2 separate regions of the Homo sapiens genome follow, and region 2 is linked to region 1. Evidence: promoter capture Hi-C in human tissues and cell types (Jung and others, 2019). All regions are on one chromosome and are shown on one strand. Each heading gives the region's core, a stretch centred on a gene start or on the middle of the fragment in contact. The rest is flanking DNA. Distances are from core to core; before and after follow the strand shown.

Region 1 (7,193 bases), core at 1,166-3,665:
CCTAGAGCCACTAAAATCTTAGCAAATGAAGCATGTATTTAAATGCCACAAGTCCGAGAGAGAGATTTTTTTAAATTTTTCATATCCTCATATGTCTCACCAAGAGACCCTAAACCAATTAATCTGTATGTGTGTATGCAGTAGCACATTTCAACAAAAGATTTATGGTGATTTCATACTTTGTATGTTCTATATCTGTTAACACTTTCAAAGTTAAATGAAGATATAATTGAAAAGAGCCAAGACCCGTTTTTTTTTTGTTGTTGTTTGTTTGTTGGTTGGTTGTTTTTATTGAGACAGAGTCTCGCTCTGTCATCCAGGCTGGAGTGCAATGGTGTGATCTCAGCTCACGGCAACCTCCACCTCCTGGATTCAAGCGATTCTCCTGCCTCAGCCTCCTGAGTAGCTGGGATTACAGGCATGTGCCACCATTCCTGGCTAATTTTTGTATTTTTAGTAGAGATGGAGTTTCAGCATGTTGGCCAGGCTGGTCTTGAACTCCTGACCTCAGGTGATCTGCCAGCCTCAGCCTCCCAAAGTGCTGGGATTACAGACATGAGCCACGTGCCTGGCCCAAGCCCCATATTAATAAGATAATTCTAATTACCTTCCAAACGTGGAGTCCTAACCTGGTGGAGGCAGGGAGCAATTAAGTCATATGTGTATGCTGATTGTCATCAGGAAAATTCTAATGGATCTGCCAACACCCATTAGTAGCAGCACTGAAAACTGGTGAGCTGCTTAATTTGCATTTTATCTGAAAATGACAACTAGATAAAAATACATTTTGAAAAAGACTCAGGCTGATGCCTTCTGCTTTTTCTGGGGTGTGAATTCAGTCAACAAAACTTGCCCCTTGATTCATTCATTTCTCAAAAGTTTGGATCTACTGACTACACACACATACATACACACACACACACACACACACACACACACACACACAAAGAAATTCCATCAGCAGTTTGCAAAAGAACAATTTGGAAGAGAAATGTATTAAATCCTCAGGGAAATTAAACCCAAATAATCCAATAATGGCATTACAAAATTAACGATAGACTATGAATTGAATTAATTGCCTCCTACTGTGGGGTTCTTGGCTACTACAAACCAAAACAAATGAAGCCAATGATGTCAAATGCCTTAAGAGAGACCATAGGCAAGTTTGTATCACAAGAGTTCACCCACTGTGGTTTTTCAACTTTCTGGCTTGTTCTGGAGATCAATATGAAGAAAGATCTTCACTTCTGCCATCTCACGTCTCAAATTACATACGGTAGGTTGGTGAGAGAGGTGAGAGGTGGCACAGTTCTAGACACAACAGAGCAATTTTACAACTCTTTGTGAATTACCTCTAACTGTCTGTGTCTAGAAGTAGCTGGACTGTAGGAAATCCATGCAAGTCTTTTTCTCCTGAAAGGGCTGAAGGGACTGGTGGGAACAAGTAAAGGTGTCTCTAGAACCCAGGCAGTCTAGTGATAAGGCAGATATTTAAGAACAGTCAGCTGCTCCAAAAGAGATTCGCTTTGGCATTTCAGTAAATGCGCATTTATTTCTGTAAATTCTCTTTTAATGTCATGATGACAGCACACCTTTGGCAATACGCGATTACCTAAATAATATGCGTCCTGGGACCAATAGAGTTAGCATGTGTATGACTTACCAAGCCCCTGCTAGTCTCCCTAAGGACTTTGAGAGGGAAGGTAGGATGCAGCATCTTGATAGAAAGTTTTGGTGATTGACACAGCTTTACCAAATAAGACCCATAGAGCAAATACAGAGGGCCTGACTGCCTCCAGCTTCTCCTGAGACGCCAGTTTGTCAAAATGCCTATCAAGTATTTGCTCATATACACATCCTTCATGTTACGGCTAACATTGACCCCTGAAGCTTTTTAATAACCAAACAGCATTTTACAAAAAAACTAATTCATGGCATTTTGTTGGGATATTATAATTTTTTTCACATTCTTAATTTTGCTTGACATTTTGAAAATACTACGCCTAACTCTTTTGTGCAGATTAAAAAAAAAAAAACATAGCTAGCATGGATTGAATACTTCCTTTTCCTTCCCTCAAGAATTGACACAAACACCAAAAACAAAATACTTTTTGTTTAAGCTTAGAGAAATGAAGCATTCTGTCTGTTTGGAATCTTAATTACTATCCCCCCAAACTTACCTAATTAGAAGCTCTTTTATAATGAGGAAAATTATTTTCAAAGTTAATGAATTTGCAAGCACAAACATTGCTGTCTTCCCAGAATGAATTATTCACATTCCTTACATGCATATTTTAGTTGTACACTCTAATTAATATTAGTACTTAAAATGTGTGAGATTGATTTCACTGTTTAAAAAAAACTTTCCTTTGTTTTTAGACGATATAAAAACACCACAATTTTTTTCTCCTCTCATAAACATTGGGCTGCACATAGAGACTTAATTTTAGATTTAGACAAAATGGAAATTATTTCATCAAAACTATTCATTTTATTGACTTTAGCCACTTCAAGCTTGTTAACATCAAACATTTTTTGTGCAGATGAATTAGTGATGTCCAATCTTCACAGCAAAGAAAATTATGACAAATATTCTGAGGTAAGTTTTTTAAATCTCTCTAATGTGAGTAGCATTAATTACATAATATTAATCCTAAGTCTAATGATTTTGTAAAGACTAAGAAGTAAGTTGGTGTGTACTCTGTTTTTTTGTGAAATTTCAGCCTTCCTCTGACAATGTATAAATGTCACTTGTTTATTTAGCACGACAGCAATCAGGCTGGCCTCTGTCATGACAATTGTACTGGTGAGTATGGTACTTAGCAAGCATACAGCGCATTAATAATTTTCAATCAACTCACAAGTGCATATTTGTAATAAATGGTTGGCAGAAATAAGATTTGGGTACATTTCAGCTGGACATTCAAATTGTTTTAAACTACAAACAAACAAACAAAAAACACATTTCTTTTGGGCTTAGCAATTACAAACTGGCCAATGTGTACTAAATCTATATCTTAGTAAAGTGTTTACCTGTAGATGGTAAAATTGCAAATTGTTTTTATTTTCTTTTATGTGTTTTCCAAATCTGATGAAATTAGCGTGTATACTCATTTTACTCAAGGGATAATCAGAAAACAATCATTTAAAAATTTCCATATGGACAAGCTCCTATGGTAAAGACTAAATCTAATTAAATATTCTCTGTATTTGAGATGGTTCCTACAAAGTTGGCATACTTGTGATGCAGTAACCCATAAACCAATGAGTTCTTTGCTAAAAATGTATTTTATATTCTAATAAAAATGCAATTGGTTTCTTGAGAAAGCTTTAGAGTGGTACCCTGAGTAAGATAGAATAAAAAAGAAATCCACTGGGCCTTCTACAACTATACCCCAAAACCTGGCCAGCATCTCTGTTTTGATGTACCGTGTTTCCATGTGCCACTTTGGCCTTTAAAGAGAAACATGAAAAATGAGTGGGAGGTTTCTCTAAAATCAAATTATAAAAATATATAAAATATTCCATAAGCAACATGAATCAAAAAAACCAAAAGAGAATAACTGCAGTAAAATAAACTTTTGCCACATTTCAGTACTTCATTATGTTCCTGCTGCTTGAACTCATTGCTGTATTCACTATATATATTTTATAAATATTTTATGGTTGTCTTACAATAGTCTAGGGACAGAGAAACTATATTGCTTTAAAAAGCTTAATACAAATCATTTAAAAATTCTGCACATATGAACACAAACTTTGTTTATAGCTTTAACAATTCTGCAGATTAAAGTCTAGATTTAAGTTAATTGGGGGTTTAAATCTGTTGCTTATAACAACAGTATGTTATTGTAATGGTCATTTCTAATTATAGCCTAGAGGATACCCAAAAGGGGAAAGAAGCCTCAATTTTGAGGAATTAAAAGATTGGGGACCAAAAAATGTTATTAAGATGAGTACACCTGCAGTCAATAAAATGCCACACTCCTTCGCCAACTTGCCATTGAGATTTGGGAGGAACGTTCAAGAAGAAAGAAGTGCTGGAGCAACAGCCAACCTGCCTCTGAGATCTGGAAGAAATATGGAGGTGAGCCTCGTGAGACGTGTTCCTAACCTGCCCCAAAGGTTTGGGAGAACAACAACAGCCAAAAGTGTCTGCAGGATGCTGAGTGATTTGTGTCAAGGATCCATGCATTCACCATGTGCCAATGACTTATTTTACTCCATGACCTGCCAGCACCAAGAAATCCAGAATCCCGATCAAAAACAGTCAAGGTAAATACCTGGAAACCAGTCAAAGTGCATGGGCAGTTATATAGAGGTGGTCTAGAAACTTTAAAAATGACTACATCTTTTCAACATAAGTTTCTAAGACAGTAAGTTTCCTAGCAGGAGAGAGAGGCAAAGACACAAGGAACTAAATACCTGTAAATTGGGAACTATAGAAGGCCAGGTATAATAAGCATGGCTCAAGGTATAAAATCATAGGATGGCTTCCCCTAAGCCACATATAAGCATCAATCTCCTTATCCTATAGCTGCTCACTAAGTCCATGCAATGACAGTATATTGTCTAAACGCTGGACCTCTCCCACATAAAAAGTCTCATGGGAGAGAGTTGTTCAGGTGCAAAGGACCCCATCTCAATAATCTAGGTCTCAAATGCAGCAGGTTTTCTTTCCTAACTTTTAATCAAAGTGTTTTCTTTTATCTGGATCTCATCTTATAAACTCTGTTATAATCATTATTTATATTAAGAAATATGTATTATCTCCTATGTACACATCAGAATGTAAGATTTAAAAATTAATAACCTACCTACCTGTTCTTTTATAGTAGAGAGCGTATGCTTAAAAAAAATTTTTTTTATATGAAGTAGAACATGATGCTTTAGTTAAGACCTGAAGAAAGTACAGTGGCAGATTGTGTCACCTTATCTGAGAGACCTTCTCAGGACACTCCAGGTTTGTTCTTTTCCATGGTACTTATCCCATCTGACATATATTTAGGGTTCATTGCCTTTATTAGAATTTCAGTCCTACAAATCCCATAATTTTTGTCCACTGCCATATGCCCAGAGCCTAAGAACTGTGTCTACCACATAGTAAGCCCTCAATATCTGACGGGATGAATGAAATAAGAGAGGCACTAATAAGGTCCTGCAGAGGGTCAGAAAAAAAGAGAGTGTTTCTGTATGTGGAAACCTGCCTTTCAAAAGCAGCTTTCTCTTGAACATTCGGAGACTGGTGAGAAGAGGGAGGTCATTTTTAGGCACTAAAGCAAGGTGAGCCAAGAACAGCCGAGGCGCCCTTTGGCAAGAGCAAAAAGGATGTGAAGAAGAGAGGAAAGAAGTCTAGACCGTTAGAGTAAGAGCAGAGAGCGCAGATATTGAGGACCCGGACAAGGACTTGGGGCGTCATTCATCAGGAGAGGGAGAACCACTGACATTTCTGCTGAGGTTGTGGGATGTTATACAGAGGCAGAATTGACAGCTAATCAGATGTTGGGAGTGGGGCGGTGTGGAGGGAGAGAGATGAATCAATGATAAGTGTTTGGGACTGAGTGCCCATCACAGATTCAGCATCCCCCCAATATCTCACTCATTTCAAGTGCAACACAATTCAACTCAAGTATAATTAGGCAGTTAGGACTATGGCTTGTATTTGTATACACACTTGCATGCTGTTGTTCTGATGGGTGACAACATTTTATACTGCTTACATTTTAGGAGACTGCTATTCAAGAAAATAGATGATGCAGAATTGAAACAAGAAAAATAAGAAACCTGGAGCCTGTCCCTAAAGCTGTGGCCTGTAATCTACAAATGGCTCTATAGCGAAGACCACACGGAAGAGTAGCTACATACACTTCATCAGCTATGGATCATCAACGGCAATTTTTCCTTGTCAGTACAGCTATAATAGTATCTTGAAAGTTGTAAAAAAATTAAAGCATATTTGTTACGTAAAGTTAAAATGATTTTTGTCTGAATAAAAAAAAAGCATTGCAAATGCTTTAGAAATCTCTGATAATGGAGAGAGAGACAGAGGACCCTCCTCACTACCCTATATAAAAATCATTGGCACAGTTACACTTAATAAAAAAAATTAAACAGAAGAGCACCCTGAAAAACATTATGATGGAAATTAAATAGTATGCCAGAATAACATGGTTGACAAATAAGTGAACAAGGATTAAAAATCACTTACAAACGTGTTTCTGTACACCCTTTCTATCGTGTCAAATGTTAATGAATCTGTGATCAATTGAAATGTAAATGTCTGTGTAAAACTACAAAATAAAAACTCTTAGACTTTAGGGAGAAAAGAAAAAGGCAACTATGAGTTACCTCTTTTAGTGTCTCCTCTATCTACATCCAGAAATTTGCCTCTAGTGAGTTTCTTTCCTCCTCATTTAACATTTCAAGTTTTTGATTTGCAAAAAGATCTGGCTATTCCTCAACTAAGAATTTATAAATTCAGTACACCACAACACAATGCAGTGACTTTCCTTTAACCCTAAGGATATGAAGTCCTTCATCAGATATAGCTAGTTTATTGAACAGTCTCAACCCCACTGGGTGCACACAGGAAATGGTTTTATTTTTCTCCCAGTGTGCCCCGCGCTGGGCTGTGGTGAATCTCCCGCCCCTGCTGATTAAAGGTCCCTTAATGCTACCCTGGACATACTGCATAACTCCCTCGGTCACTTCCTGGTATTAAAAAACTTCGTCAAGTCCAGTTGAAGACTCCAACCTCATATCCAAAAATAAAGTGTCCCCACCCACCTCCATGGCTGGCTGGGCTGGTGGAAGGGCCTAAAGTGGGAAAGGGGCAGGTCTGCTCTTTCTGTCTTCCTCCCCTTTCTCACCTCAGAGGTAGGGTGCTGGGAGGGAACATGGTAGGCTCTGAAAAACAATCTCCCCTCCTATCTTCTCCAGGGCAAGGGAGGAATTGGGATGGTGGGGGTGGTCAAGAGAAGCGGTCTCCTCCTCTCTATATAAAGTTGCTGCTTCTACAGGAGCGTTCTTCGGGAAGACTCGCAGGGGCCTTCACACAGGTCACCTACCTGGGGGCTCTGGATGCTACTTGATCTCTTCCAACTACCCCCGTCTCATCTGTTCTCCCCATAGTTTTTATTGCCAGACAGAAAGGCTCAAGCCAGCTACCCTCCCAGCGACCGCTTGGAGCATAG
Region 2 (7,379 bases), core at 3,773-6,272, 38 kb after region 1:
TGTTGACCTGGTGTGGGGTCAGGGCCACTGTCTGTCGTTTTGTTCCAGACTCAGTGTGAGGCAGGCCCAGTGTTCCAGGGCCCAGAGAATGAGGCTTTTTTATCCATCCTTTCTTCCCCAGGACAAGGGGCACTCTAATGGACTGGGACAATTTCCTGCCTGCAATTGCCATGAGCATTTTTCTTTTCCTTCCCAATATGAACTCCAAATATCTGAGACAGGTCTCAGTTAATTTAGAAAGTTTATTTTGCCAAGGTTGCAGACAAGCACCCATGACACAGCCTCAGGAGGTTCTGATGACAGGTGCCCAAGGTGGTAGGGACACCCCTTGGTTTTACACATTTTAGGGAGACTTGAGACATCAGTCAATATGTGTAAGAGGTACATTGGTTCAGTCTGGAAAGGTGGGTCAATTCAAGGTGAAGATGGGACAACTCGAAGCAGGGAGGGGCCTTCCAGGTCATAGGTATATAAGAGACAAATGGTTGCATTCTTTTGAGTTTATGGTTAGCCTCTCCAAAGAAGGCAATCAGATATGCATTCATGTCAGTGAGCAGAGGGGTGACTTTGAACAGAATGGGAGGCAGGTTTGCCCTAAGCAGTTCCCAGCTTGACTTTTCCTTTTAGCTTAGTGATTCTGGGGCACCAAGATTTATTTTCCTTTCACACCACCAACCTCAGTGGGATTTTCCTGCAGCCTGAGGTCAGCAGGGTTTTCTGCCCTTTCCCCAAAAGGTATGGCTTTTGTTTGTTCCGGAAGAAGAGTCTGGAAGAGCTTTGTGCATTTCCTGCAGTGGCAGCTGCTCCCCTGCCCCAAGCTGGCACTGTTGTGGGAGGCTCTATCTGGTCTCCCACTCTGTGCCCAATACATTCATGTGTGAGTGGGGCTCAGTGGCCTTCTATAGAGAAGCACCTGCAAGAGAGTGTGAACTCTGCTTGTCCAAAGATCCCAGGAGGTCCACACTTTCATGCTGACTCAAACACAGCCTTCAGTGATTCTTTAAAGGCATCGACTGAGCCAGTCTTCCCCACCTGTGTGGCAGGGCTGTCTCCTTCTCACGCTTGGCCACAGACAGCCATGTTCACACCTCCTCTTCTCAGAGGCTCCTGCCTTCCTTCAACCTCAGGCTGAATGTTTGCCCTGTGACTTCAGCTTCTGATGGGTTCAGGGAAAGGTATGATCTTGTAGATTATCTGTTGTTTTACTGTTACCAGAGGAGTGAGACCCATTCTGATTTTCTACTTCCTAGTCGGCAACTGGAAGCCAGAGCAATGTTTGCAAACATCAGTCAGATCACCTCCTCATTGCTGAAAACCATGCTGAACACAGTCAGAATGAAATCTCCATTTGGTGCGGGGGGCTTTCAAGCTCCACACGGCCTGGCCCTGGTGTCCTCTCAACCTCAGCCCTCCTGACTCTCCAGGACCCACTGTCCCAGGCCATATGAAGCTCATTCTCAGAGAAGTCCTCCACTTCTCATTCCTGCCCTGAGGGCTTTGCCTGGCTTTTCCCTCTGCCAGGAATGCTATTTCCTCCATTCTCACTCAGGTCAGAGGGAATGTTCCTTATCCTGCAATCCTCAGTTCAAAGTTTACCCTCTCTGAGAGCCCTCCCCTCTTTCCAAGGTTTCCCCCTCCCAGATCCCATAAAAGTTCAAACATCTTACCATATTACATATGATTTTGGAAGCTTCTCAAAATTTATTTTTGGAATAAAGGAGATGGATGAAGATGAGATTTCTCCCAGCCATATTTATTTGGTCCTCAATATTTTGCTCAAATTACCCAGGTTGGTAGTTCTCAACCTTAGCTGAGACAACGGCATCCACCTGCCAAGGGTGAAGGCCCACGATAGGCTGTTCTGGGCACCTGGAGGCAGAAGGGGTCAGGGACCAGACGTCTTTATAGGTTCAGCCTCCTGGGATCATTCAGGGACCACAAAGATATCCAGTTTTCTGTAGGAAGCAAGACATCTGGTGACTGCTCTATTCTACTTCAATCCTCACTCACTCTCACCAGTGAAGCTGCCTTAGGAACAACACCAGCCAAGCAAAGAGGGTGTTTGGTTTGGGGAAAAAATGATCTATTGACTCCAAAGCAGCCTCTGTGCTAGTGGAGACCCCATCTCAAGAGGAGGGATGGCAGACTCCACAATTCCCAGCTGTCAATACAGGAGGGGGCTTCGTTTTCCTGGGTCACTGAAAAAGAACAAGAGAACTCTGGGGCCTTGGTCCTGGAGAAGACCCAGGGGGACCATCCCTCCCAGAAACACTCTGGAAAAAGGTTGTGGAGTTGTTTTTATCTGTAAATGTCCATATCTGATAGTTCAGGATTTCTTGCTTTTTAGGGTTTCACTAAAGTTTTAGGTTACTAAGAATAAAAATTCCAGTTAACACATACTTCTGTATACAAAATATGCTAGAAAGGGTTATGTTATTAGTGAAAAAAAGAATAATTTTGTCTAATTCAGAAGTTATCTGAAAGTTAGCTTAAATTACAGATTTGAAAAGGTTATTTATGAAACAATGTAGTAAGGAATAATTAAGTAGGGGAGAAAGATGAAAAAAATTTAAATAATAAAATATTCTTTAAAACCTGATAGAGAAATGGAGACATTTGGCTAATTAACATTTTCATTGTTAAAGCCAAGTCTTGATTAAAGTAAAATAAGAAGTATTGTAAAGAAATGAATCAGCAGTTTGGCAATTCTTTTTTAAATATAGTTAAGTATGAAGCTGGGTTTAGTGTGGAGCCAAATTTCACATACATGCTTGCATTGCTTCACTCTGTTTACTGTTTTGCTTGGATAGTGCTAGAGTACTTACTGGTCATGTGCCTAAAGTGAATTTCTTAATTGCACAGAATTTATAATAATATTGATGAACTTAAGGATATTAAATTGTGTATCAGGAATAAAATATGTAATATGTGGGTTTTGGGGATCAGTAACACTGTAGCCTCCAAGGTATATTGAGTAGGAAAATTTAGGGTTGGTCTCCTGTTTTTTGTTTCTGCTTCTAGTTTTCATTCATTTGCTGTTTATTCTCCTCTAGCTTTGTGTGTATGTATATGTGTATGCATATATATAAAACCATGATTTTTTTTTTTTAGTTCCTAGTGGAAGGCTTTTACTTGGTTCTGTGAATACTTATTTTGTTTCCTATGCATTTCTAGCAAATCATTATTTGTTCCATTTATCTGGAATTTCTACACTGCCTTTGTTGGGCCACAGGAGTTAATGGAGCACACCAGCTTTCTATCCAAAACTAGTTTTTTGGATTCTAGGCTCCCTGATACTTTAAGTGTGTTGAGTATACTCTAATAAATAGAATTTGAGTCACATTTCTCTCTCTCTCTGCCTAATTTCTCCAAAATTTGTAAACTATTTGTGAATATTCCTAATTCATGGCAATGTGTTTGTTTGCATACAGTCAAGCGGGGTCAACTAGGGCCGGTCAGGGAGAGAGAACCCAGAAACGTGGCAAGCTGGCAAAAGGGTAAGAATTTCTTACCAGCCAGTCACTGGCCTCTTTCTCTCTGTACAAACTGGTTAAATAAATAGTAAAAGTCACTGTTTATCTCCTCTGTAAAGTTTTAATTGATACAAAAGAGCTTTAATTAATTGGTTTAATAATAATAAGAGCTTAAATCAAATATTTTGTCAAAAAAGTGAAAAATGTAATGCCTTTTATTTAGTTCATGTGACTTGTGTAATCTTTGGGAAATAAAGACAGTCTTAAAGATTATTGGTAAAATACAAATGTCTTCAAAATGTAAACATGTGGCCTAAGTTATGCTCAAATTTCAGGTTTGCTAAATGCTTTAAGGTCATAAACTGCTCCTTTAGCTTTTGAAAGTTGTTTAACTTGTCTGCTTTCCACCAGGTAAGGCCTGAGGACATGTGGAGGTGGCCGCACCCCTGGCTAATGCTGGAAATAGTCAAACCTTATCAGAACATAACTTACCAGGTTTTACATTAAAATTAAAATTGCTGAGAGTCACCATTATAACATGTAATTAAGACTACTAGAAACAGTTTTACATGCAAGGTGTGTAAGAACAGAAGAATTTTTTTTTGTAAAAGATTATAAAAGGTTTTCGCTTCTTTAAAATTTCTGAGTTATCATTTTGGCAAAATAAATAGTTTATGGTAATCTGGAATTCCAAAATCAAACTTCAGTTTTAAAATTTTCTTTCCTGATGCCTAGCTTTTTGAATTGATCAGAGGGCCCTTGAAAACATCTGGAAAAGAAGTAAACGAGATTATTTGACATGTTTAGGTATATGGGATTGCCAAAATGATGTTCAATCTTCTTTAGGTTATGTTTTTGTAAATAATACTAATATATATTCCAAAATTGTATGGGATTTCTAAAATTCTAATGTGTAAGTATATGCTATCAATTATAATTATGGTTATTATGTTAAGTTACTGTAAACCACAGAAATAACCAAATTTCCTTGTATAAAGCTACTAACCCAAGTAGAACAAAAAAAAATTAAATGCCAAGAAAAGTCAGATTCTCATGTTAAACCAGCTGATACTGAAATTGTTTAGATATACAATTTGAATAAACTTCACAGTCTAAGTCAAATTACCTTTGATAACTCATCAGTTGTCAGTGCTATGCACCTAATTTAGAAAAACTACTGGTATTCGAGAGGATATACATCTAATGTTAATAAGCATGGACTCATGGAGAACCAGGATGACCACCTTGTCCTTCTTGAGTCCTTAAAGTTTTTATTATTAAAAGTTCTGCATTCCATGACTCATCATGGAAAAGATAAAATAATCCAAAGTGAATACATTCATGTAGTAACTTACAAATTACTAAAATAGTTTATAACCAATGTTTGGCTCTATATTCATGGGAAAACAATTAAAGCTTCAGGTACATTTGGTCACCTGGTGGGCCATTTGAACATTTCGTAAAGGGATTTCACGCAACTGTTATTTTCAGTGCATGTTTTCTGATTGTATAAAAGCTTTCCTGGCCAGGCACGGTGGCTCATGCCTGTAATCCCAGCACTTTGGGAGGCTGAGGCAGGTGGATCGCCTGAGGTCAGGAGTTCGAGACCAGCCTGGCCAAAATGGCGAAATACTGCCTCTACTAAAAATACAAAAAGTTAGCCAGCCATAGTGGCGGGTGCCTGTAATCCCAGCTACTCAGAAGGATGAGGCAGGAGAATCACTTGAACCTAGGAGGCAGAGGTTGCAGTGAGCCGAGATCGTACCATTGCACTCCAGCCTGGGTGACACAGCAAGACTCTGTTTCCAAAAAAAGAAAAAAAAAGCTTTCCCATGCCAGAGGGCTGATGTTATCACAGCAGATTATTATGCTACAGTGTAGTTTCACCAGGTAAAGAAAACTTTTTATGGTTTGGATCTTCTGAGAACGTCAAAGAAAAACTGTCCTTGCCATCCACACTATTACAAAATTTCAGGACCTTGAACTTTGGGTTCATAATCTCACAACTGAGAAAGGTCCCTCATCACTCTTGGAACTCTACACCCATTGAAATCCTTAAGGTAAAACTAGCCAGGAAAGTTTCTCCCCAGAAGAAGATGGCATCTTGATGTGAACAGCTTTTTCCATGTTCACAGATTAAGACTTCTATTATCATGAAACTCTAATCTTTGAATATTTTTTCCTGCTTATGCTTCTATAAACAATAGAAGTGGTTAGGGGGTCAGTCTGTTATGTGCACTTGTGGGGTATACTTTTATTTGTGAAGAAGTTTACAGCCAGCCTTATACATGGATAAACTTATACTTTGATAGATAAAAGATGAAGACCCAATGTAGGTACAAAACTTTAATGGTACATACATTGCCTCGTAATCAGTTATGAACAAAACATTGGTTCATTCCTTTTAACCCACATCATGGGTTAAAAAGTACACTGCCAGGAGGTCTTCACTCTTCTAGAAGGGCATCATTTGTCAGGCCCTTTTTCCATGGTTTAAAGTAAAAAAAGCAATGATTAGAAATGTATCCCTCGTGATAGACTCTGTAGCAAATTATAAAGGTAAGGACACAGAAACTTTAAATTCTCTTGTGTAAGTTATGATAGAATTGGCAGAACAAGAAGTATCTGTGCCACTGCTGGCACTTGTGGCCTATGGAAAAATACATCAGGTGAAAATTATAGAAATTCAGTGGTAGGGGATTAACAAAGAGACTACTTGTTAAGTGAGTAGACTCTTTATCTAGCTCATTCTTTGCTCTATTTGATTTTAGGATGTTTGACTTATGGGGACCTTGGGTAAGGAGCAAACTGCAAACTCTTTGTTTTATCCTCCCAATAGTCATAAGAATAGTCTCCCTTGTGCACTGTATTGTCTCGAAGGTTTTAAATGCTTGCATGCAGCCGTCTCTAGAACATCACATGGTCTCCCTTCAACCAGAATGACAAGAGCTGAAAGAAATATGCAACCTTGAGGACACCGCAACCTATCAATGACGTGCTGAGACCAGAAACCCAAAATGATGGTAACTGAGAGTAGCGCGAAGGCCCTAAGTTTTGGTCACACTCTTACCTAAGTGAGAACCTGACCAAAAAGGGGGAATATTTTTAAACAAAATTCTGGGAGGCCATTGTTTTGTTCCTCCCACCCAGAGCACAACCGTCACCTGATCCATCTTCAGCACAGTTCCTGAAGCCTCCCGATCCATGTGGTCTATCCTGACCCCACAGGTGGGGCCTAGTGCATGAGCTTAGTCCAAAACAAGGCAAGAAGAATGGACACTGAGCTTTCCAGATGGAACCTCCCTTCTCCCAGCACCCAGGAGTTGAGATGGGCTCCTCCAACAGGAGGGAGCATCTGTGGCGCCGCATGGAGCAGCCTCTCCTAGCAGAGCCGCAGACAGCCAGGCAGGAAGCTGGTCAGTGGCAGGAGCTCTGCTGGGCGCCCTGCAGGGCAGACAGGAGCCCACCCTTGGCTCTCCGCCACAGGCCCCTGACACCTGCACCGCTGAGCACCACTTACTTGTTGTTATTGAGACTGTCCATGGGCTGCTGGGACTGTCCATTCATCCCGCTCTCTTTGCTATAACAAACAACAGCAGAATTCAGCATCATTTAAAATCATCAGACACAGAGACACAAGGCTCTCATGATACCAACACTTATCCGGGCCCGACCATGCAGACACTGCACTGGGGTGCACTTTATGTTTCAGGTAAATATCACCCCACGTTTTGTGAGGATACCGAGACAGAGCCCACCTGGGTCCCAGAGTCACCTGGCCTGGACCCTGGCCCTTCCAACTTGGGTCCTGAATGGGCCTGGTGATGGGAATTGGATCTGGGACAAATGTGACTTTGGTGTGTGACACAGAGATGGTGAAGGCACTCTTCCTCCCACATGTAAAGG

Evidence for each region. Contacts are between HindIII fragments. The study calls those that stand out against the background at their distance.
Region 2: a fragment that was not itself captured here is called in contact with the fragment with the promoter of NPVF in region 1 in 2 of the 25 tissues and cell types used here (hippocampus and mesenchymal stem cells).

What each region holds. Positions count from the first base shown.
Region 1 is chr7:25,223,708-25,230,900 of GRCh38, reverse strand. NPVF (neuropeptide VF precursor) reads left to right here and starts at 2,415. Exons shown (of 3, transcript NM_022150.3): 1 at 2,415-2,599; 2 at 3,875-4,275; 3 at 5,728-6,331. The coding sequence starts at 2,462. The coding sequence ends at 5,779. The HindIII fragment of the contact is 3,738 bases long and covers 1-2,921 here.
Region 2 is chr7:25,188,338-25,195,716 of GRCh38, reverse strand. The region is part of intron 1 of LOC124901603 (a long non-coding RNA gene); the gene reads right to left. It overlaps LOC105375191 (a long non-coding RNA gene), which reads right to left. Exons shown (of 3, transcript XR_927102.3): 2 at 6,994-7,053; 3 at 1,738-1,955. Among named protein-coding and RNA genes, the nearest start is that of SPMIP4, 12 kb to the right of the region's middle. RefSeq lists an enhancer at 6,882-7,379. The HindIII fragment of the contact is 3,464 bases long and covers 3,291-6,754 here.